Linked DNA regions of Homo sapiens: all the other regions are linked to region 7. Evidence: promoter capture Hi-C in 16 types of primary human blood cells and fetal thymus (Javierre and others, 2016). All regions are on one chromosome and are shown on one strand. Each heading gives the region's core, a stretch centred on a gene start or on the middle of the fragment in contact. The rest is flanking DNA. Distances are from core to core; before and after follow the strand shown. Region 1 overlaps RRBP1 (ribosome binding protein 1). Region 2 holds the start of ZNF133 (zinc finger protein 133). Region 3 has its middle 2.6 kb from the start of KAT14. Region 4 overlaps SNX5 (sorting nexin 5). Region 5 has its middle 4.3 kb from the start of SMIM26. Region 6 overlaps DSTN (destrin, actin depolymerizing factor). Region 7 holds the start of ESF1 (ESF1 nucleolar pre-rRNA processing protein).

Evidence for each region. Contacts are between HindIII fragments. The CHiCAGO score rates a contact against its expected background, and 5 or more counts as called.
Region 1: a contact is called between a fragment that was not itself captured here and the fragment with the promoter of ESF1 in region 7, in 1 of 17 cell types (naive CD8 T cells). The highest score is 5.1, in naive CD8 T cells.
Region 2: a contact is called between the fragment with the promoter of ZNF133 here and the fragment with the promoter of ESF1 in region 7, in 4 of 17 cell types (total CD4 T cells, non-activated CD4 T cells, naive CD8 T cells and 1 more). The highest score is 8.6, in total CD4 T cells.
Region 3: a fragment that was not itself captured here is called in contact with the fragment with the promoter of ESF1 in region 7 in 3 of 17 cell types (non-activated CD4 T cells, naive B cells and total CD4 T cells); the score reaches 7.5 in non-activated CD4 T cells.
Region 4: a contact is called between a fragment that was not itself captured here and the fragment with the promoter of ESF1 in region 7, in 3 of 17 cell types (total CD4 T cells, non-activated CD4 T cells and naive CD8 T cells). The highest score is 8.2, in total CD4 T cells.
Region 5: a contact is called between a fragment that was not itself captured here and the fragment with the promoter of ESF1 in region 7, in 2 of 17 cell types (total CD4 T cells and naive CD8 T cells). The highest score is 6.6, in total CD4 T cells.
Region 6: a contact is called between a fragment that was not itself captured here and the fragment with the promoter of ESF1 in region 7, in 1 of 17 cell types (total CD4 T cells). The highest score is 6.0, in total CD4 T cells.

The regions. Positions count from the first base shown.
Region 1 is chr20:17,678,048-17,681,738 of GRCh38, reverse strand. It overlaps RRBP1 (ribosome binding protein 1), which reads left to right. Exons shown (of 25, transcript NM_001365613.2): 2 at 1,664-1,740. Among named protein-coding and RNA genes, the nearest start is that of RRBP1, 2.3 kb to the left of the region's middle. RefSeq lists silencers at 1-146, 177-226, 257-566 and enhancers at 140-812, 1,004-2,203. The HindIII fragment of the contact is 811 bases long and covers 1,673-2,483 here.
Region 2 is chr20:18,285,873-18,290,143 of GRCh38, reverse strand. It overlaps ZNF133 (zinc finger protein 133), which reads right to left and starts at 1,617. Exons shown (of 7, transcript NM_001352452.2): 1 at 1,540-1,617. RefSeq lists enhancers at 885-1,004, 1,565-1,904, 1,010-1,915, 1,995-2,044. The HindIII fragment of the contact is 851 bases long and covers 1,164-2,014 here.
Region 3 is chr20:18,133,208-18,137,358 of GRCh38, reverse strand. It overlaps a transcript of KAT14 not described here. Among named protein-coding and RNA genes, the nearest start is that of KAT14, 2.6 kb to the left of the region's middle. The HindIII fragment of the contact is 2,828 bases long and covers 1-2,664 here.
Region 4 is chr20:17,962,857-17,966,975 of GRCh38, reverse strand. The region is part of intron 1 of SNX5 (sorting nexin 5); the gene reads left to right. SNORD17 (small nucleolar RNA, C/D box 17) reads left to right here and starts at 4,030; the gene lies at 4,030-4,119. RefSeq lists an enhancer at 687-766. The HindIII fragment of the contact is 815 bases long and covers 1,164-1,978 here.
Region 5 is chr20:18,569,792-18,573,699 of GRCh38, reverse strand. No RefSeq gene overlaps it. Among named protein-coding and RNA genes, the nearest start is that of SMIM26, 4.3 kb to the right of the region's middle. The HindIII fragment of the contact is 2,280 bases long and covers 1,465-3,744 here.
Region 6 is chr20:17,570,839-17,574,984 of GRCh38, reverse strand. The region is part of intron 1 of DSTN (destrin, actin depolymerizing factor); the gene reads right to left. Among named protein-coding and RNA genes, the nearest start is that of DSTN, 2.8 kb to the right of the region's middle. The HindIII fragment of the contact is 2,061 bases long and covers 1,125-3,185 here.
Region 7 is chr20:13,782,058-13,786,187 of GRCh38, reverse strand. It overlaps ESF1 (ESF1 nucleolar pre-rRNA processing protein), which reads left to right and starts at 1,269. Exons shown (of 14, transcript NM_001276380.2): 1 at 1,269-1,308; 2 at 3,005-3,684. The coding sequence starts at 3,048. NDUFAF5 (NADH:ubiquinone oxidoreductase complex assembly factor 5) reads right to left here and starts at 1,160. Exons shown (of 11, transcript NM_024120.5): 1 at 898-1,160. The coding sequence starts at 1,119. RefSeq lists enhancers at 250-939, 935-1,224. The HindIII fragment of the contact is 9,427 bases long and covers 1-4,130 here.

The sequences.
Region 1 (3,691 bases), core at 829-3,328, 3.9 Mb before region 7:
GGCGACCGCTCCCTGCCTCCCTCCCTCCCGGCAGGGCCGTCGGGCCGGCCAGCGCGCTCCGAAGTTGGGCGAAGAAAGTTGGCGGCGGGGCGGGGCGGGGCGGCGCACAGCTGGCGGAGGAAGGGGTTAAGTTTCGGGAAGCCGCCGGATGACGTTGCCGGGCTGGAGTCCGGGCCGGAGGGGTGGGGTGCGGGCGGAAGGCGGCGGAGGCCGGCCGAGGGGAGGAGGGCGGGATTGAATGGGGGCCCACGGGCCGAGCGCGCCGGTCCCGGGCCGCGGCCCGCTGGCGCTTCGCGGGGCTGGGACGGCCCCCGACGGGGCGGGCCGGGGCCGCAGGGCTCGCGGCGCAGGGACCGGGTCTGTCCATGGCACGGACGCCGGGCGGCCGCGGTGGCAACTTCCCGGAGTGCGGGAGGCGGCTCCCTGCTCCCCCTGGCGGCGGGGCCGGGGCCACCGTTTCCCCGGCTGGGCTGCGCGGAGCCTGGCTCGAGGGCTCCCGGCGGGGGGACGAGGGCGCCCGGGGCCCGGCCCGCCCCGCCCGCGGCCACGATGAATGGGCCGGCGGTGCCAGCCCCGGGCGGAAGCGGACACCTCCGGGCCGGCCAAGCGCGCTGGCACCCGGCCTGGTGCCCGCCCCGGCCCGGCCGGCTCTCCCGCTGCGCCCTGATTAGGGGAGGCAGGCCGGGGTCTGCGCTTCCAGTGGGGCGCCCGCAGTGCTTCAGGGACCCCTCTCCGAATGATAAGTCGCGAGTTTTAGCTCTAGAGTGCCCCGGCTGGCGAGGGTGACCCCGACCAAGTTGTTTCGTTCGGGGTCTCCATTTCCTGGTCTGCAAATCGGGGCTCCTGTTAGCTTCGATTTGCGAGGAAAGCTGTGGAGACCCAGCACTTGTAGGAAGGAGCCACAAGTGTTGGCTGTTCAGTTGGGATGCTTTTGTTGGGGGGTGCTGGACACGGGAGGAAGGTGGGGCCTGGCTCCGGCACTGCGGCGGGCGCGGGGCTGCAGAAGTTGCACAGCCGGGGTTCTACACCCCGGACCACGTACTGGCCGCCTACTCGCAGGTCCCATAGCCCCTCTGAATCCTAGTTTCTTATCTGTGGCCTGAAGACAGCACCACCCACTCACAGGGTCGGGAACCACGCCGGGAAGTGCTGGGACCTTGTACAAACAGAAGGCAATTTGGCAATTACTCTGAGAGGTCAGAGGTTAGGAGAGACTGGGAAGCACCAAGGAAATGAAACTCTGAGGGACCTGAGGAGCCTCCCACGTCACTGCTCAGCTATTCACTCTGCGTGCTGGAACCTTCAGGGTAGGGGCCATCTGGATGGCATTTTCAGGAATTTGGAGAAATGGGCCTGGTAGGGCCTCATATCTCACATTAGATACCTCTTCAGAACTGGGTGTCCCCAGAGACCCAGGACGTCTGTCTGGCACTCCCAGGAAGAACAACTGCGAATGTTACCCCGCCCTGTGCAGCTGGGGGGCATTCTCCCACTGCCCCGCCTCCCTCCTCACACTCCTTGTTTGATTTAACTTCCTGTTAATCCGACACCTAGAGAAATCTGTGACCCTGCAGCATGTCACTTACTGTGTGATGTCTTGACTCGTTTACGAACTTGCCAAAGGTCACTCCCACTATCATATGCCAACCTCTTTCCCTTCCAGAAAGAAGCTTCCGGTTCTGAGGTCCTGGAGGTGCCATTTCCCTCTCTGTTGAAGCAAAGGCCGGGGCAGACCTCCTAGTAGGTGAAGTTTTCCTTTTACATGGAGCACCGCAAAGCCGGCTTGCAGGGATCTTGGGCCAGTGGAGGCCTGGAGGAGGCTAAGGTTGGGGGAGGGGAAACCAGAAAGGGATCTTGGGGTTTAGGAGAGGGTTTAGAGCTCTAGGCACTATAACAACTCTCACCTTTCATACTTAGGAATCTGCCTCTGAACATTTACAGAGAGATTAAGAAGTTACAGTGGTTCATGGTATATGAGTATTTTTTGGTGATGGAAGAGTTTTAAATAAATCTTAAATCAAGTCACATTTGAGCAATTATGCTCTTTAATGAAATGAGCCCTAACTCAACAGGCTGCAATAATTACATAGCAGCAAACTCAGTTTAAATGGTTGAATGCCAGTGATTGAATTGGAGTATTGATTTATTATGTAGCAGGGACACCTTTTAAAAGTGTCGGGACCCCAGACTCTTCTTGTCTTTTTAGCCCTGGGAATTTTAACTAATAGATGAATGACACATAGAGGATCAACAGTTCTGTTGAGACAGCAAGTTTTTCTTTGCTAAAATCTTGTTTCAGGAGAAACAAAAATAATGGTCAAGTCAGAATGATGAAGGCAGGGACTGTGCTGTCCGTCTGTGCATGCTGGGCCTGCAGTGGTTAAGGCCTGGCCTATAACATCATAAATATTGGTTATACCAGGCGGACAGCGCCCCCATACCTGTTAAACTATTCCCAGCTGTCTCATTGGATAAATGAAGCTTAGCCCAACTTGGTTTTTAAGGTTCACTTTTTAGAATCAGATTCCACAACTGTGGTTTACATTTAGGCCTTAAAATAACCCTGTTCTAGGGGGTGGGAATGGTTGTCACCCATTCAGTGGATGAGAATGTGGAGGTCCAGCTGGTCAGAAGGTTGTCAGGCCAGTTCCTGTTGCCCAGTTGCTAGGCGATGTGGGCCCGGCCTTCCAAATGTTCCCTCCTGGCTATATACCTCCACCTTCCTGGGGCAATAATTACCCAAGGGAGGACACAGAACGTGAAGATCAAAATTAAGAGCTTCAGTGGCAGGAAGGTGGGGAGGCATTTTGAAAATCTGGCAGTGCTGAAGGTATTTTTCATTTCATTTTTTTCACCGAGGGTCTCCTGTGTGGTGGGCCTTCAAACACCGCAAGTGAGACCTAGTTCTTGCCTGAAAAAGCTACTGTCTAGAACTGTGTTGTCCAATACAGTAGCCACAAGTAGCAATTTAAGTTTAAAACAATTCAAATTAAGTAAAATTAAAAATTCAATTTCTGAGTCAAATTAGCCACATTTCAGGTGCTCAGTAGTCATAAGTTGGTCAGCGTGGCTGTAGATGGTTTCCACCATCACAGAAAGTTCTAGACAGTGCTGATGTAGAGGCAGCTGGTATTCTGTAAACATTCATGTCCCTGTTCCTCTTGATCATGTGGTAATATGTTGAACCACATGAAATTGCCCATTCTGTAGGTCAAAACCAGTTGACTAGTGGCAGTTGATACACTTCACCTGATAAGATCTCACCCTGAGAAAGCATTAGTCCCGCCTCTTTGTGTGCATTGTAAACTGCATTCCAAGAAAAAGGAGTGGGAGGGGGGCCACACAGATAGTGGCCCTTTCCTGGAGAGATTTTTTACCCAATGCCCTCAGCATCAAAATGGTGACTTGTAACAAAGACAGAAAATAAATTGATATTAGGTAGAAAGTGATGGCTTGTAAGGGAAGGTAAATATTTAATTTTAAGTGACAGTGCCTAGGCAAGGAGGCACTCTCACTTAGCATATAGAAAATTAGTTCAGGGGCCTCCTAGGAGACTTTTCTTAGGCAGACAAATTCTGGCCGAGTCTCCTGAAGCAGACAACCAGACACCCCCAAAACCAGACGTGTGTGTCCTTTATGTGCATTCAGTAACATGTGTCTTCCACCTGTCAACAATGGGCAGCAACTTTAA
Region 2 (4,271 bases), core at 368-2,867, 4.5 Mb before region 7:
CACAGACGTCAAAGCTGAGCAAAAGAAACCCACTCATGGTTCGAAATGCAAAAGGTAAGTGGCACCCACCTGAAGCTGGGCTGTCAGGAGCTCAGGAGTACCCCCTTTCCCCAGCAGGCAGTCCTCTCTGGGCAGACAGGAGCCACAGGGAGGCAGAACAAGAACAAAAAGCGTTCAAGAAAATCAAGGGAAATCCTCTCCAGCAGGGCAGTACCTCCTATTCCTTAACAGCATCAGGAATGAACCTGCCACAGAAGAAAAGGAGAAAAGAACTGCGGGCAGCTTCCTGGGAACACAGCTGGGGTACAGGTTGAAAGCACGACCTGCCCTGATATGCTGTTGACGCTGAGCATGAAGCGACCTTCTCTGTGCCTGTTATTAATGAAAGGTAATATTCACTGAACACTTAGTATACACCAGAGACTGTTACAGCCACTGTAGGAGTTTCACCTCATTCTATCCTTTCAACAACCCAATACGATAGATGCTATTATCCTCTTTAGGATAAAATCGAGGAAACTGAGGTACAGTGAAGTCAGCATCTTGCCCAAGGTGACACAGCTATAAAGTGACAGAGCCTAGAGGAAATGTGGCTGTGGAGACCGTGCTCTTACACAGTAAGGGCAGTGACGGTGAACTCTGGATTGCAAGGATTCTCTGTGTCCATTCTGAGATGAATCAAGATTGGTCATAAGGTTTTAAGTGTTGAATCTGGGTGATGGAGATCTGGTCTATAGAGTTCTATCTACTTCTGGCTGTTTGAAATTTCTCCGCAATAAAAACTTAAATGGAATGTAAAATCCCAAAGCCTGGCCACACCAGGGGCCTGGGAATCCGTAATTCTTGCGATCAATGACGGTCCCTGGGACCTTTGGAAAAAACCTGTCCTGTGCGTCCCAGCCAGACTTCCTCCTCCAACGCCCGAACCCGGGGGTGACCAACCAAAGTGAAACCCTAAGATCGCGGCAAAATGGCCACCCCAGATCCAGTCTAACCTTGGCTTGTTTGGTCAAGCCAGACCGCTCCTCATTCCACTCCAGCAAAGCCGAAGAATAGTGTGGCCCCAAGAGACTAGCCCTCAACCGACCAATGCCTCGGGGACACATGGCCCCAGGGATGGTTCCCATTCCACCACCTGGGAAATACCATTCCCCCAAAAAGCTTATTTATTCAACTCCCCCAAAACCGGGGACTTATGGCATCAGCGACTCCCTTTCCCAATACCCGACTTCAGCCAAAGCCGAACCTGTCCCCACCCACAAGAACCCTAGGAGAGAGAGCCCGATCCCCCACTCATCACCATCCAGTTTCACGGATGGGCTTCACCCAACTCCCCTGGAGATGCACGCCCACACCCCCAAAATAAGACATCTGGGAGAGGACGGCCTGCGCCACGCCAGCGCGTTCCCACCACAATCACCACCCCCGCGCCACCCGCACGGTCCCCAAATTCAGCCCATAGTCCAGCCTTTCGGGACCTTCCTTTTCGCGCAGAAAAGGGTACGGCTGCGGCAAGGGTCCCGCGGGAGCCTCACTCACCAGCGCCACCAAAGAACAAGGGGTCGCTCCAGCCACCAGCTGGGGAGCTCCTCCAGCGGGGCGCCAGGACTACACTACCCCGAATCCTCGGCACAGCGCCCGGACCACACCTCCCAGGATGCTCGGCGCCACCAGGCGCGCCCTGAAGGCCGGCAGCTCCCATTGGCCTCTGACGGATCCGTTTCTGAGTAACACGCTCCGGTCACCGGAGAATGGCCACTGTGGCACCTGAATTCTCCCTCTTTTTTCTTAACCACGTGCATAAAACACGTAGGAGCTCCCGAGAAGAGTGCCTGGCCCTACTGTGACCCTCCTTCTGAGCGCCTCTGTCTCGAAAACTACACTTCCCAGTGACCCCTGGAGCGACTTCCGCACCCGGTACCGGCCCCGCCCCTTGGCGCGCGGAAATGACGTTTCGGGGCGCATCTGTTCGGCTTCTGGGGTTGGCGGAGGTGTACCGCTGGCTGACCAAGCTTGTTCAGGTGCTGGTTTGTGTTGCAGCGGCCTGTGGTCTCCCTGGCTCCAGCCGCCTGCTTGGAAAGTCACGCCCCATATTCCTAAACACCGGGCGAACGTCATGTCGTATACCCTTTAGCTCCATTTAAAGCCTTGAAAAGGCCGAGCAGTCTGCCTGAAGTCTCACATCCCGTACGAGGTAGACCCGATTCTGAGCCCACGCCCTCAACCCGAATACACCTTTTCCGGTGCCCTGAGACCTTTTTCTTCTTTTTGAAATCCACGAAGTTATTGTTAAACTCTCATCTCCTGAGAAGCAGAAGCCTCAGTCTCGGGCCAGAGCTTGGCCTGCCGTCGGCTTGGATCTCTAGGTCTTTGTCCGGGATCCTGGTTGAGAACAAGATTGCGCTGGTGCCATCTGGGACGCCCCATCTGGGGAGCTCGAGGGGAAGGCCCACGTCACTCTTGAGAGGGCTTTTCCACCCGTGCACCCTCTCACTGCCCTTCACCTTCCTCAGATAGGCTTTCTGAAACTTTGTCATTCTCTTGGAAGACCAAGAAAATGACCACTGTCTGAAGGGCCAGGGAGATGAGAATTTCCTAAAATTCTTTTGTAGCTCTCAGAGGGTGAATCCATTCCCTTCTGGTACCCCGAGGCTACATTATTTATTGTGAATTCAGTTCAGTCCTGGCTCCGGAGACATGTCCAGTGTCAATTGGATTCATCCCTCAACATCATTCTCTGCCTCATGAGTCAGTCATCACCAAGAAATTAGTTGTTAATACACATAAAGGTTCAGAACAACAATGCAGGGATGCCTGTGTTCAAGTGTTCACTTGTGCTGGCTGTACAATAAAGACACAGATGGCTGACATCTCTTAAGCCTGGAAATGAAGACTTACAGGATGAGGTGCTGCCTGAGGAATTAGGCAAGATGAGGAGTTGGAAGAACACAGACGAGTAAGGAAGAGTGTAGGAAGTGTGAACAGAATCTCAGGGTCTGAGCCACTGGGTGGACTGTCATGACCACAGTGAGATTTTCAGCAGCACGTGGTCTTGCAGCCAGCTGACTTGCATATAGACAGGGATGCTAGATGTCCACCGTCTAGATGTACAGCTCTGTCATACAGATATTTGGTGTGTCCAGCCTCCAGTTTCATCTTTGACAGACCTCAGCATTTAATAATTAGGAGTTTCCATCTAGAAATCTGGATTGCCTGCTTTCTAAAACACTCTTTGCTGCCATGTCCTCTTTTTCTCCTGGCATTTCCCACCCACTCCATGCCATACCTCATCTGGAATACCCTTAGCTCCTCTGAATCCATCTGGTCCTTCAAGACCAAATACCTAGCTCTCTTTCGTGAAACCTTCCCTGATCACTATACTATAGTGACTACTTGAGACTCTTCTAACCCTGGCTGTACTTGGAAGCTTTTAAAAATACAATGCCTGAACACCACCCCAAGAAATGAGTTTGCAGTGGAGCCTGGGCATCCATTATTCATAACAGAGCTGTTTTCCTCTTGAGAAGGGAAGATGTTGTGTAATAATGTAGAAGAGAGATCTTGTTTTGGAAAATCAGAAGTTTAGTTATTGGTTGTTGCTATTTCTGAACCATATACCTCGGTAGATCATTTAACCCAGCGCTCTCAAAAACATGCATACATGTCACTTGGGATCTTGTAAGCAGCAAATTCTGAATCAGAATGCCTGATGGAGCCCAAGCATCAGCATTTCTAATAAGCTTCCAGATGATGCTGGTACTGCTTGTCTTCAGACCAGACTGGGTAACAAGGCTTTAAACCAATCAGGGGCTCAGATCTTTAAATTGAATATAAGCAGCTAGATTAAAGAATCTCCAAATTCCTAAATCTCAGAAAGACCATGATTCTATACTTATATTTTCTTTTAATATGTTATCTATTAAATGTAAAACACCTCAAGGTTAGGAATTGTGTTTTCATTTGTAAAGCCCATAATAGCCAGACTAGGATCACAGCAAGTGATGCTGGTTGGATAGTGAATAGGGTTAATGGTCTTGGAATCCAAGCTCCAGAGTTACAGTCAAAAGCAGGACCTAGATATTTTACCTATCTTCCCCAAGGCAGCCCTCTTGCTCCCTTGTTTTCAACATGGGCACACATGTCAACAGAGTGAGCGGAGCTGTGTTTGGCATAATGGTTTTTCATAATATTCAAGGTTGTGGCTGTGGATTTCATCTAAGAGGTATGAAGCCTGTGGAGTCCTGCTCAGAAGGACCTATACTGGGAGATGG
Region 3 (4,151 bases), core at 1-2,500, 4.4 Mb before region 7:
TGGTTTCACCTTGACGCTGTGGGGCGACTGGTCAGGCTCGGATTATTATTATTATTATTATTATAATTTTGATACAGAGTCTCTGTCTATCGCCCAGGCTGGAGTGCAGTGGCGCGATCTCGGCTCACTGCAACCTTACCGGATTCAAGCGATTCTCCTGCCTCAGCCTCCCGAGAGGATTACAGGCGTGAGCCACCGCGCCTGGCCCCATGTAATCTTTGTGATCACTTTTACACCCAAGTTTCCGCGCCAGTAATACAAGGGAAATAAATGATATAAAGAAGTCTTGCGTTGGGAATAGTTAAGCAATTGTGCAAGACGCATTTTCACTTCTTCCTCGGGTAAAAAAGGCAAGGCCTCCCAGAAACTTTTAAGTATCTGATAGAGCAACCAGTGAAAACGTGTTCATCATTCAATCATTCTTTCCCACTAGAATTCACAGAGAACGAGCTTCTTCCGGTGGACACGGCTATAGGCAGTATTGATTAAGCCTCACCAGGGAGTTTTACAACATTCATTACTGTTCATAGTGCTTTGCTATTCCAGTCTCTTATGTGAGCGTAAATGGCATAAGGGGACTATTGCTCTTAAAGGTATCTTTAAAGATACCTTTTCCAAATGTCATTTTGTCCACAGCATTTTTTGCAGCCTAGAGAGAATGTACCACTGAATTGGAAAATGGAGTTCTTGCTGTAATGAACTTTGAGAAGAAATTCAGTTCAGGGTGTATTTGCATATTTCTCTTTAAAAATTATATTAGACTTCTTTTTATTCGTGGTATATCCTAGATATTTTCCCCTGTAAATCAGTGAGCCTTCAACAGAGCTGTATGTCCTTAGAGTGTACATCAGGGAATTAGATCAATCGCCTTTCATTTTATTGTGACTAATTTTTCAACTTGTTTTCTTGAAATGTACTCTTTTCTTTATTTTCAGGATACTAGAAGCAAAAAAAAAAGTATTCTACTTTTAAGAAATCATTTATTATTAACTGTGTCAAATAAAAAAGTGGGTTGGGGGACTGAGGGAGGTCTTGCAAAAAAAAAAAAGTATGTTTATCTGTTTAAATATTTATAAGCCTAAGCAGTATATTTTCCGTGATTATTGTCGCATAAATTACTGATTTGTGAGAGTGACTGCATATCATCAAACTGAGAAGCAACTATTTTTTTCTTTTTCTTTTCTTTTCTTCTTTTTAATTGAGACAGGGTCTCACTCCGTCGCCCAGGCTGGAGTGCTGTGGGGTGATCTCACTGCAACCTTTGCCTCCCAGATTCAAGCGATTCTTGTATCTCAGCCTCTGGAGTAGTTGGGGTTACAGGCCTGAGCCACCAGGCTGCACTAATTTTTGTATTTTTAGTAGAGATGGGGTTTCACCATGTTGGCTAGGCTGATCTAGAACTCTAGTACTGGGTGCTGGTACTGGGTGTTTGTGAAAATTGGTCCAGTGGCACACCAAGGCTGTGTGGTCACACATACATGCATGATACACTTCTATACAAAATCTTACATAACTATACGAACAGAAAAAAAATGGCTCTTTTTTGTTTCTTTTATTGTCTTTATTTCCTTTTGATTTTTTATTGTGTGTTTTTTTCTTTTTTTTCCCATTGGTTCATAGCCGATGGCTTTACATTTTATCATCACTTCTTGTATCAAATAGCTTTTTGGCTGGGAACGGTGGTTCATGCCTGTATTCCAGGCACTTTGGGAGGCCAAGGCAGGTGGATCACTTGAGGTCAGGAGTTCGAGAACAGCCTGGCCAATATGGTGAAACCCCGTCTCTACTGAAAATACAAAAATTCGCCAAATGTGGCAGCGCATGCCTGTAATCCCAGCTACTTGGGAGGCTGAGGCAGGAGAATTGCTTGAACCCGAGAGGCAGAGGTTGCAGTGAGCCACTGCACTCCAGCCTCGGTGACAGAGTGAGACTTCAACTCAAAAAAAAAAAAAAAAAAGTTTTTTCTCCATGGTAACTATCAAAAATTAAAGAGATGATCATTTAAAAAGATTTTGATCAGCCAGGCGTGGTGGCTCACACCTTTAATCCTAGCACTTTGGGAGGCCAAGGAGGGTGGATCACTTGAGGTCAGGGATTCGAGACCAGCCTGGCCAACATGATGAAACCCCGTCTCTACTAAAAATACAAAAATTAGCCAGGTGTGGTGGTGGGTGCCTGTAATCCCAGCTACTTGGGAGACTGAGGCAAGAGAATCACTTGAGCCCGGGAGGTGGAGGTTGCAGTGAGCCGAGATCAAACCACTGCACTCCAGCCTGGGTGACAGAGTGAGACTCCATCTCAAAAAAAAAAAAAAAAAAAAAAAATCTTGATCAAGAACTATGTGCAGGAGCAATGATCAGGAACTATTTTTAACACAAAACTTGATATTTAAAAGAGACTCCAAGAAGAATGTTATCAGGAAATTTTACCCAAAGTTGATATTTAAATCTACCCCAAGATTTGCTTTTATTTTTCTTCTCATAATTATATGTCATTTATTTTTTTGTTTTTCTTTTTCTTTTTTATAAGAGTACCATATAAAGGAAATGTAAATAATTATTATCCATGAAGCTCCTTTTAGAATTATCCAAGCTCACGCAAGTTGATCCCAGTGAGTTGTACAGATATCCTTATTTTTTATGTTTACCAAGGTGGGACGAAGCTTAGGAAGCATGGCTGATTTAATACAATTTGCTTGTAAGGCCAGAACATCTGAACCTTGTGTATCTGGCTATATTCTAGTGTCTCGGCATCCTAAGATCACATCAGTTCCTGCCCCTCTCAGCTTTGGATTGACTTAGGTGTGCCCAGAATGGCCACTGCTTTCCTGGAGAGGACAGTGGGTGCCTTGCCCTGCCATTGGCTGGCCTTCAGAGTGAACTTACCTCCAAAGACAAAAATAGGAAGCTGACCACCTTAAAAACCGCTCAGTGGCTCCCCATGCCTACAGGATAAAGTCCCATACTCTTTAGAACAGCATACTACCCTGTCCTTCCCTTCAGAATCCTCTAAGCAAGAGGCAGCATCAAAAAAGAAGTACAGTTGGAAGTCAGGGCTTGGAGAAGAATCAACAAATGAAAACTAAGGGGAGGGAATGCAGTCATTTTCCTGTGTTTGAACAACATGGTCACACAATCTTTGTTCCACCTTCACTCACACAAGGGTGGGGACTTGAAAAAAATGCCTTCCTCACTGAGTGTGTAATTTGGCTTATGTTATTTGGGCTTGAATCATGGCCAGGTCCTGGCAGCTATCCTGGGAGAGCTGGGTTTCGGGTCACTTCTGTCTTAAAGAATAGTAAATCACTAGTACCCTAGCAGGAGGTATCAGTAGGAGGCACGGGTTTAAACTGGGCTTGATGGTGGGCATGAATGCAATAGGTCAAGGCAGAGGCTTCAGGCAATGATCAGAAGCTTGTCATCATTGGGGCTGAGAGAGAAGGAGGAGGTGGGAAGGAGGAGGTTTGTTTGGGAAGAAGGTGGAGGGTGTCAGCTGAACTGGCACCAGTGACTGATAAATTTATCAGTCTCAGCACTAAATGATTACAGAAACATCACACCACATGGCACCGCATAAAGCACCATTATGACTATTTTAAATGCAAGCAAGAAGGCTTGCCTTGTGTATGGCCCTGTAGTGGGCTCTATAGGCAGACAAGGCCACGAAATCCCACCTTCTTCAGGCTGAGGCTCTGAAGTCAGCACATAAGGAAAAAGTCAAAAACAGTTAAAACTACCCTTGAAAACATTTTAGGAAGGTGACATGTTGAAGAAAATAGATATTTTCTCAGGAACTCCAAAACAGCCAGTTTTTCTTCTGGTACTGGAATTAATCACCATGAATTCAATGCAGTATCTATATAAGTAATCTGAAATTCTGCACAGGTTTGTCTCTTCTCTCCCATTTAGTAACTGATTCAATCATTTGTTTCTATCAGTGTGGACTGGTGGGTATTTATTTTATACTTTGGGTTATAATCCAATATTACTTTATTTTGTTGCTCAGATGGCTCCCGCTTTGGCCGTTGGGAGATCTTTCAGCTCCTCTGCTTCTCTGACGGACCCTCATCAATGTGTGTTTTTCTTGTTTAGCACTTGTCTATTTTCTGACACTGCACAATATTCTGAGCTAATCTTGTATATTTCCTGCCC
Region 4 (4,119 bases), core at 322-2,821, 4.2 Mb before region 7:
TTTTTACATTACAGGAATAAAGAGACAATAAAAATAAATAATTACCCTGACGCGTGGCTTTATTTTTGTTTTCTGATCTCTGCTGATGCTGATAACCTGCTGTGGTCTGGCCTAGATGGTGTTATGGTTAACTGAAAGGGAGTTTGGGGCAAGTATGAAATAATGGGAAACTAAGTCTTGGGCAACTTTTTGCCATAATACAATTTCGGTAGTCAACTGAAATGTTTTGTGTGTTACCTGAAATGTGTGTTACTTAAATTGTTTAAATGCCCTCCTGATAATTTACTTTGGTTTGGAATTCTCCCTAAGGATGGAGTTAATTAAGACTCACTAAGGTAGGGGGACATACTTGATTCTTCAGGATTTTGAATTCTAGCCCAATACTCATTTTGGCCAATTCAGCAAAACTGAAAGGGAATACTGTGTCAGTCGTGTCTGGTAGCCAGACACTGGCATTTTGTTACATTCTTTAGCCGAGGGTGTTGGGGTTTGCCTTCTTCCTCAGAAAATAGTTCAGGGGAAGAGATGCATGGTTAATTTGGTTCCTAACTGGTCCTCTATTTACTGGTTTTTGATTTTTTTTTTTTTTTTGAGACGGAGTCTCGCTCTGTCGTCCAGGCTGGAGCGCAATGGCTCGATCTCAGCTCACTGCAACTTCCGCTTTCTGGGTTCAAGCGATTCTCCTGCCTCAGCCTCTCAAGTAGCTGGGATTACAGTCGCTCACCGCCATGCCCGGCTAATTTTTGTATTTTTGTGGAGACCGGGTTTCACCATGTTGGCCAGGCTGGTATTTGAACTCGACCTTCGCAGCCTAGTGCTATTTTTAACTAGGGGGTTCTCCTTCCTTGACAGTAACAACTTGGCCTTAACTTACTGCTTGGTTACAGGGACTTTGGTGAATGATATCTGTCCTCTTACCTACTCAGGAGTGTTTGTAGACTAAGTACTGCTGCTCTGGTTTCGTGTTTAACTGGTGTGGAAGCTGCCTCTAGGGGTATTTTTGTTCTCCATTAGCTAGAATGGAGTGCAGTTGGTTAGTATAGGAACAATCCTGAACTTTGACCAATACCATAGCAAGTCCAAACTTACAAACTTTGTGGACTGAAGCTTTATGCTACCCTTGCAACTATTTTCTAAGTTGAGGAAGTATGACGTATCAAGCTTCCCACGCCTTAGTTCTAGTTCAGTAACTTGTACTCGGTGTCTTAAGATCCCCATTTGTGAATACTCTAAAAGGTCATTATCTGTTCACATTATTTTGGCCATAGGTAGAAATGGCCAAGAGGCTTTTTTTTTTTTTTTTTTGAGACAGGGTCTGGCTCTGTCACCCAGGCGGGAGTGCAGTGTCACGATCACAACTCACTGCAGCCTCGACCTGGGGAGCTCAGGTGATCACCCCCACCTCAGCCTCCTGAGTAGCTGGGGCTACAGGCACACACCAGCATGCCCACCTAATTTTTGTATTTTTTGGTAGAGATGGGGTTTCACCATCCAGTTCAACATGCCGGGATTACAGGCATGAGCCATTGTGCTTGGCCAAGGCTGTTAAGTTTTCTAGATTTGTTTCTGAGCTGTAAACTCCTCATTCGGTGAGACCTAGTGGTCATCTAAACTAGAGGTTGAGTTTAAAATTCAGTTTCTCAACCTGGGGAGCACTGTTGACATTTTAGCCTGATCACTTTTGTTGAGGAGTGCCCTCTGGGTTGTAGGATGTGAAGCAACTGTTTTTGGCCTCTGCTAGGACGCGGCCTCCTCCCCTCCCATGGTGATAAGAAGTCAAAATTGCCTGTTTGAGAATCACTGGTTTAAACGGACTTCCTTCTAAAATGGTGTGATATGGGTGGGGTCAGGTTGTGTTACAGAAGCTAGTCTTTGTGTGCTTGTTGCGAATTTTTCAGGTTTTCTATTAATCTTGCCTAAGGAAATAACATGCCATGTAAAAATTAGCATTGTTGGATATCTTTGTGAGAATAAAGCTTTTCCACTAATACTGAGGAACCTTAACAAAAGGTGGTGAAAGATGGTTTTCTTCAGCAGGTTCTGGGTACTTGAGGGTTGCAAAGGGAGGGCTTCGTGTTTGTGTTTGTGAGTGTAGGCTTTGGACACTGGAAACTTACCTGAGTTTCTTGTGCTGCAGAGGGGAACTTGGTTTAAAATTCTGCTGTTTCAGCATTTTTCTGTCTTTATTATCAGGGTCTTGATGCTCGAGCAAATTAGGTGAGAACAGATCTATAGGTTAGTACCCTGAATGTCTTAAATAGCCCGTGGTCACAACAGTGTGTAGTGAAGTTAAATAGTATTTAAGGAAACAGTCTAACTTTTAATGATCCCAATAGTGAGAAACGGCTATTAAAGTGTAAATTAAGTTTCTCTGCATGATCTAACTTTCCAAAAAGTGGCTTCTTCACCCTTAATACCTGTTTTCTGATTGGCCATTGAGGTACTCTGACAAGATCTCCTAAAAGAGATCTTCACACCTTCACATGCTGCCTAAAGGCAAACCATAGTACCCCAGGAGGAGTAAGTTGCAGTTTGAGGGGCAGCCAACACTTAAGTTTAAAAATGGGGGTCCTTGGCTTGACTCTTCTTTTTACATTTTGGCATAACTTTTTTAGGCATTCCTATATGGTCTGGAGAGAAAACTAATTTTCTGCCTGAAAAGCTCAGTTTCTGAAGGGCACACTCCTAAGCATTCTAGTCATGGTAAATGGTGAGGAATACAAATCCAGATGGCTCCCTTGTCAGGGTTTTCACTTTTTCTTTCAAGAGCACCGCAGAGCTAGGACATTGTGCTGTTAGATACTTGGTAGCTGGTGGGTGATAAAATGTTGGACTTCTTCCCTCACCCTTCCTATATCTTTCATGAATTTTGTTTTGAATTCTTGTATTTATTTTGTTTAGAATTCTTTTTCTCAAGACAGTCTTGCTGTGTTGCCCAAGCTGGTATCGAACTCCTGAGCTCAGGCCATCTTCCTGCACTCAGCCTCCTGAATGGGCCCCTGGTCTGAGTATTGGAATATTTACATCTGAATGATTTGGGAAATTTGCTGTACCTCAAACTCAAGAGTGAAAGAAATGTCCAACCAAAAAGCGGGCAGCCTGCTCTCCATGCTGCCATTTGTATTTCAAACTGAGATGACCAAGGTTAAGTTCAAACAGGCAGCTCTACCACTGTTGCTGAATCGTCTTTCTTGGTAAAGGTAAATTGTCAAACCTATTTCCTGTGCATCTTGGTTTGATCATGAAGTGAGACCATGAAGGAAGGCAGTAAATGTCCTTCAACACCCTCATCCACATGAGTAATATGGACCATCTTAGCTTTGTTGAAGAGGGCTTGTTCCAGCCTTGGCAACAGAGTGAGACCCTGCTACAAAAAAGGGGGCTTGCTGACTTGATATGGTATGCCAGTGAACTTTTGGGAGGGAGCCATGATGGGATTGGGTAGTAGGTGAAGGCTTTTAGCTCTGAGTAAAGGAAACTGGCATTTCTGTTTTTTACTTTTTGAGACAGGGTCTCAGGGTCTCGGCCTGCTCCCAGGCTCGAGTTCAGTGGTCTGATCGTAGTTCACTGCAGACTCAAAATCCTGAGCTCAAGTGATCTTCCCACCTCAGCCTCCCAGAGTGTTAGGAGTAAAGGCATAGGCCACCGAGCCTAGGTGATTTTTTTTAAGGCTTTGCTGTGTTGCCCAGGCTTGTCTCAAACTCCTGGCCGCGGGCGATCCTCCTGCCTCAGCCTCCCAAAGTGCTGGGATTACAGACAAGAACCTCTCTGCCTGGCTGGGTTTCTTTTATTCATTTGTTGGACCTGCTTTCTTGGTAGCAGTGGTGTATTGATTCCCAGTAGGATTTATCTGCCAGGAGATCCTTACAGATCATTAGTTCAGCTGTTTTGCTTTGTGAATTCATTTGAAAGTATTATAATTTCGGTACTTAGTAATTAGATGGATTTCTTGACATGCATTAGATATTTAAGGCAGTAATTTAACTCTGGTTCCATGTTGATTCCATTAGTACATGGGCTTGCAGCCTTGTGAAATGATGATTCAGTTTATCCATTCGCTGAGTGCGCTGCACTGACCTTCTTCCAAGCCTCAGTTCCTGTTCTAGGAACTTGAGGCTA
Region 5 (3,908 bases), core at 1,355-3,854, 4.8 Mb before region 7:
GGTTTTGCCACTTTGGGTCTCCATTTTTCTATGGGGGCTCCCAAGTGCATGTAAGAATCTGTACACTTTACTTTGGCTAATCTGTTTTATGTCAATTTAATTCTCAGGCCCAGCCACAAACCCTAAAAAGTATAGGTAAAATTTTGCCGCCTTCACAAGTGTATAAGTAAATGAATGACCCTCTCCCTGAAAAGTAGAAAATAAACAAAGAGATCAACAGTAGTTAAGAAAAAGTATAAAATAATAAAAAGTAGTCTGGAATGTCTATTAGGAATTCCAGACACAGAGAAAAAAAATTAAAAGGCAAACGGAATTCCTAAAAAATAAGAAAATTCCCCAGAACAAAACAAGAGTTTCCATGAACTAAGAACCCACTGAGTGATCAGCCTAGTCAATTTTTTTAAGCCACACTAGGTGCATCATTGTAAAAATTTCAGAACACTAGAGATGAAGGAGGTCCTAAGACCTTCTGGAGAGAAGAAAACAGGTAATAATCAAAGATTAGGACTTCTCAGCTGAAATATTGGAATTGCTAGAATACAGGGGACTGATGCTTTCAAAATTCTGAGGGAAAGTAATGATCAAACCTGGGGTTCTGTACCCAGGCCAACTAGTAATTGAGTATGAGAATACGAAAAAGACATGTTCTGGTCGGGTACACTGGCTCATGCCCATAATCCCAGCACTTTGGGAGGTGGAGGCAGGCGGATCACTTGAGGCCAGGAGTTTGAGACCAGCCTGGCCAATATGGCGAAACCCCATCTCTACTAAAAATGCAAAATTAGCTGGGTGTGATGGCGCAGGCCTGTAGTCCCAGCTACTCGGGAGGCTCAGGCATGAGAATTGCTTGAACTTGGGAAGCGGAGGTTGCAGTGAGCCGAGATCGCACCACTGCACTCCAGCCTCGGTGACAGAGCGAAACTGTCTCAAAAAAAAAAAGACATGTTCAGACATGAAAAATCACCAAAAAATTATATACCCTTTTTCAGAATTATGGGGACACAGTATCGAGAAAACAGAGATCCATTATAGGATGGCAAAGCAAATAGCAAAGAAAAATGGATGCAAAGCAGAACTAGAGTGATCAGTCCAGATTGTACCAAGAAGACAAAGAGCTCCAAGATTTAAAAACAGAAAAGAGAAACTGGAAAGGTTTGTGTGGAAAATTATATTGTGAGGTTAGAGGATGTGGAAAGAATGAGAGAGAAACATCAAGAAAACAAAGCAAATGAAAAAAAGAGTGCAGTTAACTCCAGAAAGAAAAGTTATATGAGAAACAATTATAGCTCACTTACTTGGCTTATCAACAAACTATGTTTGCATAGTTAAAACAGGGTAAATATTAATTATTGATTCATCAAAAATATGCAATAGTTTTATTGGTTAGTCAGTTGGAAAGGAGGATCAAATCCTCATTAATAAATCCCATACATGATTGATAAATTAAAGATATTAGTAAAAGCTTATTATTTAGAAATGTGGACGTAAATACCAAAAAAAAAAAAAAAAAAACCTAATAGTTGAAAGCAAGGAGGGATAAAGCAGGAACTGTTTTTTTGGTTACAAACTTTTGATCATTATTTAATTTTTTAATGCATTTGTTGCTTTGTTAAAAATATAAAAATTAATTTCAAAAAAGTCATGCTGGCTAATACTGTAGAAACCAATTGGAGGGGACTCCAAGTAGAGACAAAGAGAGTAGGAAGTTGAGGCTACATAAGCAAAGAGGATGGAGGATTTAAGTAAGGTAGTGGTAAAGGGAATGGGAAGGTGGGAATGGAGTGGAATATTTGCAGTAGAAATGATGGGACCTGGTGGCTGGAGGAAGGAGAAGGAACAAGAAGAGGGAGAAGTCTAGAATGATAGGTTCCTAATTTGAGGAACTGAGTACTCTCTGAGAAAGAGAACGGAAGGAAGAGCAGCCTTGTGGGTGATGACAGCAATTTAAGTTATGGACAAAGCTGAGGTGGCTAGATATCCAAGTGGCAATGCTAGATGGACATGGATCTTGAGTTCAGGAGAACGCTGGGCTGAAATAAGAGAATAAATTAGATCTAGCAAAGAAACCCAGCCAAGTCCCAAGGAAAGCTAACCCAAATGTCCCCTTAAGCCCCACAAGTGTATGAATCCTGGGTAGACTGCCAGGTGAGAGTAGAAGTTCAGCTGTTTATCCTCGGTGTGCTCTATTAACAACTCTCACCTGCCAAGTGCCACAGCCCCTCAGCCCTTGCCCTTTGTTTCTCTGGAAGCCCTCATGTTAGGAAATGTCTTCCAAAACGTTCATGCTACTGTTCCCATTTCTCCCATACTTCTGATTCACTTGCTTCTCACCTTCCCCATCTACTGTCGTACACTGCTTCTCATTCATCAGTTTGATGCCAACCAAGATGGTCCACTGGAATACACAGCCAATTGGCACGAATCCATGCTTGACCTGATATCCCTTGGGAAGCTGAGTCTCTGCTACCAGCATCTGGAGCTGTTACTTGTGATTTTGGAATCCTTGTCACTAAGGCTGACTGCACCACAGCACTGCTCAGGCCACCCATAATGGTGGAACTGACACCAATGAGAAATCAAGATGAGGGTCTGAAGGTCATAGTACTGTAGAGGAACCCTGAAATGCCCAATTCCTGTCCTACCACACATCACATCTCTACTCACAGGGTCCCAACAGCTATGAACAGGAAAACACTACCTAAATGAGAAACAAATGCCACTTTATTCATAACTGAGGCAGTACTCTATAATCCATAGGCAGGGATCTGATAAAAACTGAACTGAGTCTCTCGCAAGGGTGGAAGCCAAAGACCAGGTTGAGGAGAGGCTGGTCAGACTTTGGCACTGCACATGGGAGGTAGTATCTTCTTGGGATATTTGTATTACTCCAGAAAGGTGAGAAAAGCAGCTGGTGTGCAATAAGAAAAGCAAGGCCAAGAGCCCAGGCAGGCTCAACAAGTGGCTGCCTGCATTCTGGTCCCAGTGTCAGGCCTTCTGAAGACAACATACTGCTTTTTTTTTTTTTTTTTGAGATGGAATCTCGCTGTCAACAGGCTGGAGTGCAGTGGTGCGATCTCAGCTCACTGCAACCTCCGCCTCCCAGATTCAAGCGATTCTCCTGCCTCAGCCTCCCAAGTAGCTGGGACTACAGGTGCGCGGTGCCATGCCCAGCTAATTTTTGTATTTTTAATAGAGACAGGGTTTCACCATGCTGGCCAAGACGGTCTCGATCTCTTGACCTTGTGATCCGCCCCTCGGCCTCCCAAAGTGCAGGGAGTACAGGCGTGAGCCACCGCTCCTGGCCCATACTCTCTGCTTTAATTCTGAGCTACCAATACACGTTTTTTATAAACACCCACTTTTGATTTAAGCTCACTTGTGTTTGTTGCCTGCAACCAAGAGACCACTGAGGAAACTGGTTCAGCATCAATCATGTCGTCCTGACTGCATTCCCAGCATTAGAATAGCACTGGCCACAGTTGGTGGGTAATCCACACTTGCTGAAGGAATGAGGGGTATGTGCACTGGTCCTAAAGAATAGGTCCAGTCTGTTTAATTCAGAAGTTACAATCAAATTTATATCATACTTACCCAGTACGCAGTAGTACCCAAAGGGCTACTGTGAATCCCAAAGTGAATATGGAGATTTGCTGAAACTAACCTTAAAGCGACCACTAAAGCTGTGCCTAATAGCAACATGAAAGAAATATAAATCTACATTAACTAGTTTCAGGAAATCAAGCTTATGGAAGCTCTATGTGAAATTTCACAGCAATCTTTCACTCATGCAAATACAGAGGAACACCTCTTGAAAATGCAGATAGTAGGCCGGGGACCGTGGCTCACACCTGTAATCCCAGCACTTTGGGAGGCTGAGGCAGGCGGATCACAAGGTCAGGAGATGGAGA
Region 6 (4,146 bases), core at 906-3,405, 3.8 Mb before region 7:
CTCCGCAGGCTGAGGTGGGAGGATCATTTGAGCCCAGGAGATCAAGGCTGCAGTTGAGCTCCAGCCTGGGTGGCTGCAAGAGAGTCTGTCTCAAAAAAAAAAAAAAAAAAAAAACAAAAGAAAAGAAAAGAAAAAGAAAAGAAAGAAAAAAGAAAGGAAAAAAAGGAAAGGAAAGGAGAAAGAAAAGAAAGTCAGTCATGTTTACTTGTTTTGCATGTTTGTTTTTTAGACTTTTAATTTTTTTTTTTTTTTTTTTTTTGAGACTGAGTCTCGCTCTGTCACCCAGGCTGGAGTGCAATGGTGCGATCTTAGCTCACTACAACCTCCGCCTCCTGGGTTTAAGCGATTCTCCTGCCTCAGCCTCCTGAGTAGCTGGGATTACAGGCACGTGCCACCACGCCCAGCTATAGACTTTTAATTTTTTAGAGAAGTTTTAGGTACACAGCAAATTTTAGCAGAAGTGCATTGTTCCCATATATCTACTGTGTGTGCTTTTACATTTTGGCTAGAAGAACTGCCAGGAAAGAGAGGGGTAAGTGTAAAGTGAAGGACATTAATCTCCACAGCCCTTGGCAAAGAAGGAAAGAACTCTGTCCTAAGTCACTCTACATTCTACCACTACCAGGGGCCTAAAAATGGCAGGTGGATAGAATTAACAGAGAGTATTGAACTTCTGGTAATTAGCTGGCTAAGGGGCCTGGAAAGAAATTTATGTGCCAGAAAAGAGAAATATTACTCCTCAGTATGAGGTTCTGGTATTGATAATCATGTTCTTGTTTTTTGAGACAGGGTCTCCCGCTGTGGCCAGGCTGGAGTGCAGTAGTACAATCATAGCTCACAGAAGCCTCTAACACCCAGGCTCAAGCAATACTCCCACCTCAGTCCCCCAAATAGCTAGGAGTATAGGCACATGCCAGCATGCCCAGTTAATTTTTATTTAATTTTTTTGTTCAGACAAGGTCTCACTATATTGTCCAGGCTGGTCTCCAACTCCTGGCTTCAAGCAATCCTCCTGCCTCAACCTCCCAACGTGCTGGGATGACAGGTATAGGCCACTGTATCCAGCTGATTTTTTTTTTTTTTTTTTTACTGCTACATTTACTTTATGGCTCTGCAAATAAGCTTAGGTGAAGATGGTAAGTATTTACAGAATGGCCAGGTTTGCAGGATGCAGCATGCGTGTAAAAACCTAAGATGCAATAAACATATGAAAAGAGTCAGCTCACTAGTAATCAAAGAAATGCAAAATAAAATAATGAGAAACCATTTCACAACCATCAGACTGGCAAAGGTTTCAAGTCTCTTATTAAGTGGTGAAAGGCAATGTAGAAACAAGCTGTTAATGATGAGATACAACCAGAACGAACCAGTAGTAGAGTAGAAAATATGTATGCTCCAATCCAGGGCTTCCGCTTCTAGATATACACCATGGAGAGATACACACTGGGGCTAGAGAAGTAATATATAGCAATATATGACATGGAAATTGCCTATTATAAAAACTTTAAATAGACCAAAAAAAGGCAAAAAATTAGGAAATGGCTGAATGTCTATCAACAGGGGAATGGATAAACTTGCACAATCATACAAAAGAACACAATTCAGCAGTTGAAGAACCAAAGCTACAAATAAATCCAAAAGCTGCCCTCCCCTGGGAAAAAAAAAACCACCCCCACAAAGTTTAATTTTTTCTCACAGAGCTGCAAAAGGATACATGAAGCACAGTATTTACGTAAGTTTTAAAAGCACATCAAGGCAATACATATGAATGATTAAGTAGCTAAAAGTATGGAACTATCAATGAATATCAATTTCAGGTGACTACTGTGAACTTTACCTGAGCTCTGTGTTCTCAGAAAGCAGTGATGGTTAATCCACCCCACCGTTTTGTGTTCTGGGAAACAGGTAACTGCAAAGAACTGGCCTGTTGCATATTTTCAAATAAGGCAATCAGGAATGCTCTCCTAATTGCAATAGCCTGAATAAAATCATCTCCTTAACCAGCCAGGATATTATGTCTTTGACACAGGAATGGTTATAACTCTAGGGAGGGAAGGGAGTGGGATGAGGAAGATGATGCATATTTAGCTGTAATGATAACATAAAAACCTGAAATATGGCAATAAGATAGCCCTGTTTTTCCTGTACAAAAGGATCTGTTATTCTGTGTACTTTTCTGCTTAAAATGTTTCAAAATTATTATTTTAAAACTTGGAGTTGGAAAAGGTGATTTGTCTCAAGTCAATTAATCCTTTACAATCTGTTTTCTCATATGTTAAATAGGCATGTGAATACATGCCCAACCTATTTCACTGGGTTGTAGTGTTTTTGCTAATCACCAAGTATTAGAATACTTGAATACTGCGCCAATTAGTTCAGTCTGTGAGACCACAGTCCAGATTAGGATAAGGTTAAGGGTTAGATTATCGTGCAAACCTTTTAACTCTACTTCAGGGGCAAGACTACACTCTTACTTTCCAAGAAGCATAAAAGATACTCTGGTTACAAGAGGAGCTAGGCAAGTCTAGGTGTGATGTCTCAATCCATATCCAGTAGAACTACTGAGCAAATAACCTTAGTAACTTGATGATGGGCTACTAAACAATCTCTGTATAAGGAGGCTGGCACACCCAGTACACACACACACACGTTTTGTTTGGGGTCTGTAATTGTGGTTCACGTGGAGGCAGACGTTGTTTGTTTTTTGTTGGAGGAGACATCTGAAAACATCTAATCTCATCCTGAAGCGCCCAGCTGGTTTCAAACTGCTTTATTTCAGGTGCTTCTAAAAGACTTGGTGAGTACAAGGAAGTGATTCTGCTAATTTAGAACAAACCCATCGGTAGTTAAAATTTAATCTTAAAAGAAACTTGGAACCAAGCATCTAACCAAAAGAGCTAAAAGCAAAGTGCTAGACTCTGGGATAATACCCACAATATTCTCTAATCACTGAACTAAACAAAGATGCTCCTGCGCTCATAAGGCTAAAAACAAAAATAACCTTTAAAAATGGGGGGTCTATAATCTGAACTCTAAGAGTAACTTGTAAGGTCTTCTTGATCTCCCTAAAGCCAACAATTTTGAAGCGTATTTGGAAATCGCTCATTTCTAATTTTTATTTCTCCCACTCCTCACAAGAACCAGGAAATATAACAGACCCTTCCTTCCTTGAATTTAGTTAAGCTTTAACTAAAACTAAGCATTTAACTAAAGGTAAAATGTTTGGTCTCTTATTTTCAAACAGAAAAATAAAGTCTGTATTAGCCACTCAATAAAAAAGCATAATGTCAAATCAGAAGTCTCTAGAGCAGACCCTAGTCAGCTTCAAAGCACTTTCACAGAGTGAATGGTCTTAAGCGTACCATAACTCAAAGCCCCTAGATTAAGTCTTTCAGTATAAAGTAGCATATACATTTAAAATGTTATTAAATTTCTAATAATTAGATATTAAAAAGACTCAAGATGCTGATACTTTGTAGCTTACAGCATTAAACCAAAGAAGAACCAAAAACTGAACAGTATCAAATCCCTATTACATACATATCTACAGTCATCAAGAAACTACCGGTTTATCTTTTCTTTCACTAAGGGGCCGCCTGCATGTTCACGGAAGTTGTAGTAACTTAAGAAAACCAAAACTGTTATACAGTGAAAACAGTTTGTATGCAGATAAGCTGGTACCAACTGCTTCTAGACAGATGCAATTACAGTGTAATATTTCTAGCAAAGTCTGGTAAGGCTACGCCTGCAAATCACTGACCAAAAATGGTAACAGTGTGTGCACACTAACGAAAACGACAAAATGTTCCAACTGATAGTTCAGTTGAGAATACGTTTTTAAATAGCTAATTAGAGTGACAGTGTAAAGGGGGAAAATATGTAAATTAAGCAAAATGTCCATCATATAGAATATACTAATGAGCACCTGTTTACTTTCTGGTGACTCCAGTATTTTAATGGTTTTTAAAGCTCTTAAATTTGGTTGTATCAGCATCCCAGCATCATGCCCACACCTTGCGCACCAAGTTCTGGCAGAGTCCAACTGTCTACAGGTCAGAAAAAAAATTCTAACCATACACGGACAGATCGGGCAGGGAAGGGTTAAAACAGACACTGCCAAGCTTGACAAGCACGACGAGAGTGCTG
Region 7 (4,130 bases), core at 20-2,519:
ATACTTGACTCCAACTTTGTTCCACTCCTGAATAAAAATTTACTGAGGCCTGAACTTGAGAATGCGTGTCCTGAAAGTAGAAACCCTCAGTCTCTGGCTCACCTGGGCAGGGAGAAAGGTTTCTCAAACGAGCCAAGACAAATCAGAAATCTTAATTTGATCTTCCTAAAACATAAGTCAGATCACTCCACTGATTAAAACAAGAGCTTCACATTCCCCTAGAGCAGTGCTGACCAAAAATCATGAGAGCCACATATGTAATTTCAAATTTTCTAGTAGCCACATAAGAAAAAAAGTAAAAACGAGAGAAATTTTAATTGAAAAATTTAAATTTATATTTAATATATTTCATGTGACCCAATATATCAAAAATAATCACTGCAACATGTAATCAATATAAAAGCTCTTAATGAGCTATTTTACATCCTTTTTTCATACTAAGTCACTATACTCGTGTGTATTTTACAACACATCTCAATTGGACTAGTCACCTTTCAAGTGTTCAACAGCCACATGTGTGGCCGGCAGTTACCATACTGGCTGGACAGTGCAGATACAGAAGAAAACCCCAAGTCCCTATCCTGCAAGGCCCTGATGATTTGGGTCCTCCTAACCTTCTCTCCCACTCTCTCCCTCTCCGGAGCTTCACTGGAGGCCTCTATAAGGTCCTTTCAGCCTCAAGGACGTTGCCGAAATGAATGCATGAATGAATGAAAGCATGTTACAAATATCCGAGGCCAGGCCTTGCGTGATTACAGTAGAGGCCGAAAGAGGCAGGGCTGCTGGTCAAGGTCAGACGGCTAGGTGGGGTGAGCTCGGGGCCTAGCCGGAACTAGCGGAGAGGAAAACAAGCCTCCGCGTCGCCCGCCCCGCCGCCCCGCCGCCCCGCGGGCTCACCTCCTCCTTCAGGTAGTCAAATTTGGTCGGCTCGGGCTGCCGGGCTGCCCAGTTCTTCTGTTTCCTTTTCAAATCCCGGTCGAAAATATTCAGGGTTCTGGGCGAGGTGCTACCGCGGGGAGAGACACCAGAGGTGACTTCCCTACGGCCAAGATTCTCCGCTGGGACCCTCGCCGCCCAAGGTCGCCGACATAAGCGCCAGAGCCCTGCCGGCCGCAGCATCTCCAGCTGCGACCCCAATTGCCGGCGCTTTTTGTGCGCATGCGCCAGCGCGGCTTTTGTGTCTACTCCAAAGATCTTCTCGAGGGAACGTGCAAGTAGTTTGGCCTAGTTCGCTTGCCATTACGGCGGAGCGTCACGCGGAGGATTGTGGGTGTGAGCCCCACGTGAGGCTTGGTAGGACTGCGGACGGTGAGTGGGGATGGACTGGAGTTGAAGAGCTCGAGATGAAGGGCTTGAGGGCGTGTGTGTGTGTGGCGCGGGGAAAAAACTAGTCTCTAACAGGATCTCTTTCGGATCTGCGAGGGGTTTTGCCCCTTCCTCCTGAGCCTTTTTCGGTCTCATTCTTCAGTCTTCATCGATCCTTTTCAGGGTCGCTTCTCGAATCAGTCTGTTAGCTGCCCCCCTGCGGTACAGGAGGTGGAAAGGAGACCCTAGTTCAGGGGCCAGCCCTGTGTTCTCCGAATTAGAGAGCGGGCAGAAGGGGAGGGTGGGCTACGGGGATGCGGGCGCGTGTCGGGAGTGAGGTCCGGTCGCCTTCCCCTCTCTCGGATTATCTGACATATAATGAGTGCTTTCCTTCTAAACATTTACAATACATGCAGTACTTCTCCTGGTTGAGGTGGTACCTACCTCGTAAGATTGCTCAGAGAGTTAAGTGCTGTAATACATCGAAAAATGTGTAAATGCACCAGCGATAGCTTCCTTTTTTTTCCTAGTTAGTGTAATTAAAAGGACTTGATTTTTAAATAAGAAATATTGCCCTTTTAATCATTTTGGGGGGGGGTTGCTTAATAATCAACGACTTTTGGCTCTTTGCAAAATTCCCATCCAGAGATGCTAAACCATTGGAGACTTTTCACAAGGGAACAATATTAATTTATACACACATATGTATATGTTCTAGTATGTTTTGGGGGAATGAGCTCACTTGGGCCTTCATCACTGGTAGAATCAGATATTATAGAAAGAAGTGATATTTATTAACTGGTGTGAGACTTTACCTGGAGACTCAAATTTACTTTTTATTTTTAAACTTTTTATTACTTTTGAAGGATGATCGAATTTAAAAAGGAAACTTTCTTAGCTAAACCTGAGTTGATTTTGGTCTGTTTAGTTAGAATGCTAGTCTTACAGAACTAAAGGCTGTTTGTTGGCAGTAGCCGGAGATAAGGAGTAAGCAGAATGAGACCAGAATGTGAAGAAACAAATGAGGCCAACGGAGGCTAGGGAATCTTTCTTTCTTACTTTTTTTTGGTAGACAGGGTCTCACTCTGTTGCCCCAGCTGGTGTGCTGTAGTGCCGTTAGGCTCACTCTAGCCAAGACCTCCCGGGTGGAAGTGATCCTCTTGCCTTAGCCTCCAAAGTAGCTGGGACTACAGGCGCGCGCCACCATGCCGGGCTCATTTTTGTATTTCTTGTGGGGATTCACCATGTTACCCAGGCTGGTCCTGAACTCCTGGGCTCAAGTGATCCGCCCGCCTTGGCCTCCGAAAGTGCTGGTGAGCCACCGCACTCGGCCTAGGGAATCTTAACTACATTTGCCTTCAATTAGTAACACATACTGGTATACAAATAGAAATTCTAAGTGAGAGCAATGGATGAATAAACATTTGTTCCCCTCCATAAAGCCCTGGGATTCTGCTTTGTCTACCTTAAGTTTATTTCTCTAAATGATCTGTCATGGAAAGAGGATATTTTGGTATGTTTCTGCTTTTTTGCATGTGACCCAGAATACGTTGGAGAGATGAAATTAGACTTGTTACCTCTATTTTATGTACACTTAACTTAGAATATATTAACTTAGAATATATTGTGAATGTGTTTTAAAACATTTAATTATTGTACTAACCATTATTACCATTAAAACATTTGTTTTATTTTTCAGTATTTGTTTTCTTCAAGCATTTGGTCGAGATTAAGAATTAAAAATGTCATCCAAACAAGAAATAATGAGTGACCAGCGGTTTAGACGGGTTGCAAAGGACCCGAGATTTTGGGAAATGCCAGAAAAGGATCGAAAAGTCAAAATTGACAAGAGATTTCGAGCCATGTTTCATGACAAGAAGTTCAAGTTGAACTATGCCGTGGATAAAAGAGGGCGCCCCATTAGCCATAGCACTACAGAGGATTTGAAGCGTTTTTACGACCTTTCAGATTCTGATTCCAATCTCTCTGGTGAAGATAGCAAAGCATTGAGTCAAAAGAAAATAAAGAAGAAAAAAACCCAGACTAAAAAAGAAATCGATTCAAAAAATCTAGTTGAGAAAAAGAAAGAAACCAAGAAGGCTAATCACAAGGGTTCTGAAAATAAAACTGATTTAGATAATTCTATAGGAATTAAAAAAATGAAAACCTCATGTAAATTTAAGATAGATTCAAACATAAGTCCGAAGAAGGATAGCAAAGAATTTACACAAAAAAATAAGAAAGAGAAAAAAAACATTGTTCAACATACTACAGACTCTTCTCTCGAAGAAAAACAAAGGACATTAGACTCAGGCACCTCTGAAATTGTGAAATCTCCCAGAATCGAGTGTTCTAAGACAAGAAGAGAAATGCAATCAGGTAGGTTGGAAAAAATTAGAGATTCTTGGGTGTTACATTATTTATTTTTATACTGATCTTTCAAAAATGTAAACACATTAATAAGTATTTTCATAGTATTATGGAATGGTCAAATGCTTATCTGGAAATACAAAGCTATAAAAGAAATATGCAGTGATTATTAATTTTTGATGTGGTGCTAGAAGACAGACATGAAAATTTGAATCTTGAAGTTAAACAGTGATTTTGATTAGTGGTGAGCCCTAATGAGAACTATATTCTCTAACCAGATAAAGTGTTATATGTCATCACATGATAAGAAGAGATGTGTCTAAAGAGGGTAAGTAGGCCGGACATGGTGGCTCACGCCTGTAATCCCAGCACTTTGGCAGGCCAAGGCGGGCAGATCACTTGAGGTCAGGAGTTCAAGACCAGCCTGGCCAACATGGTGAAACCCCATCTCTACT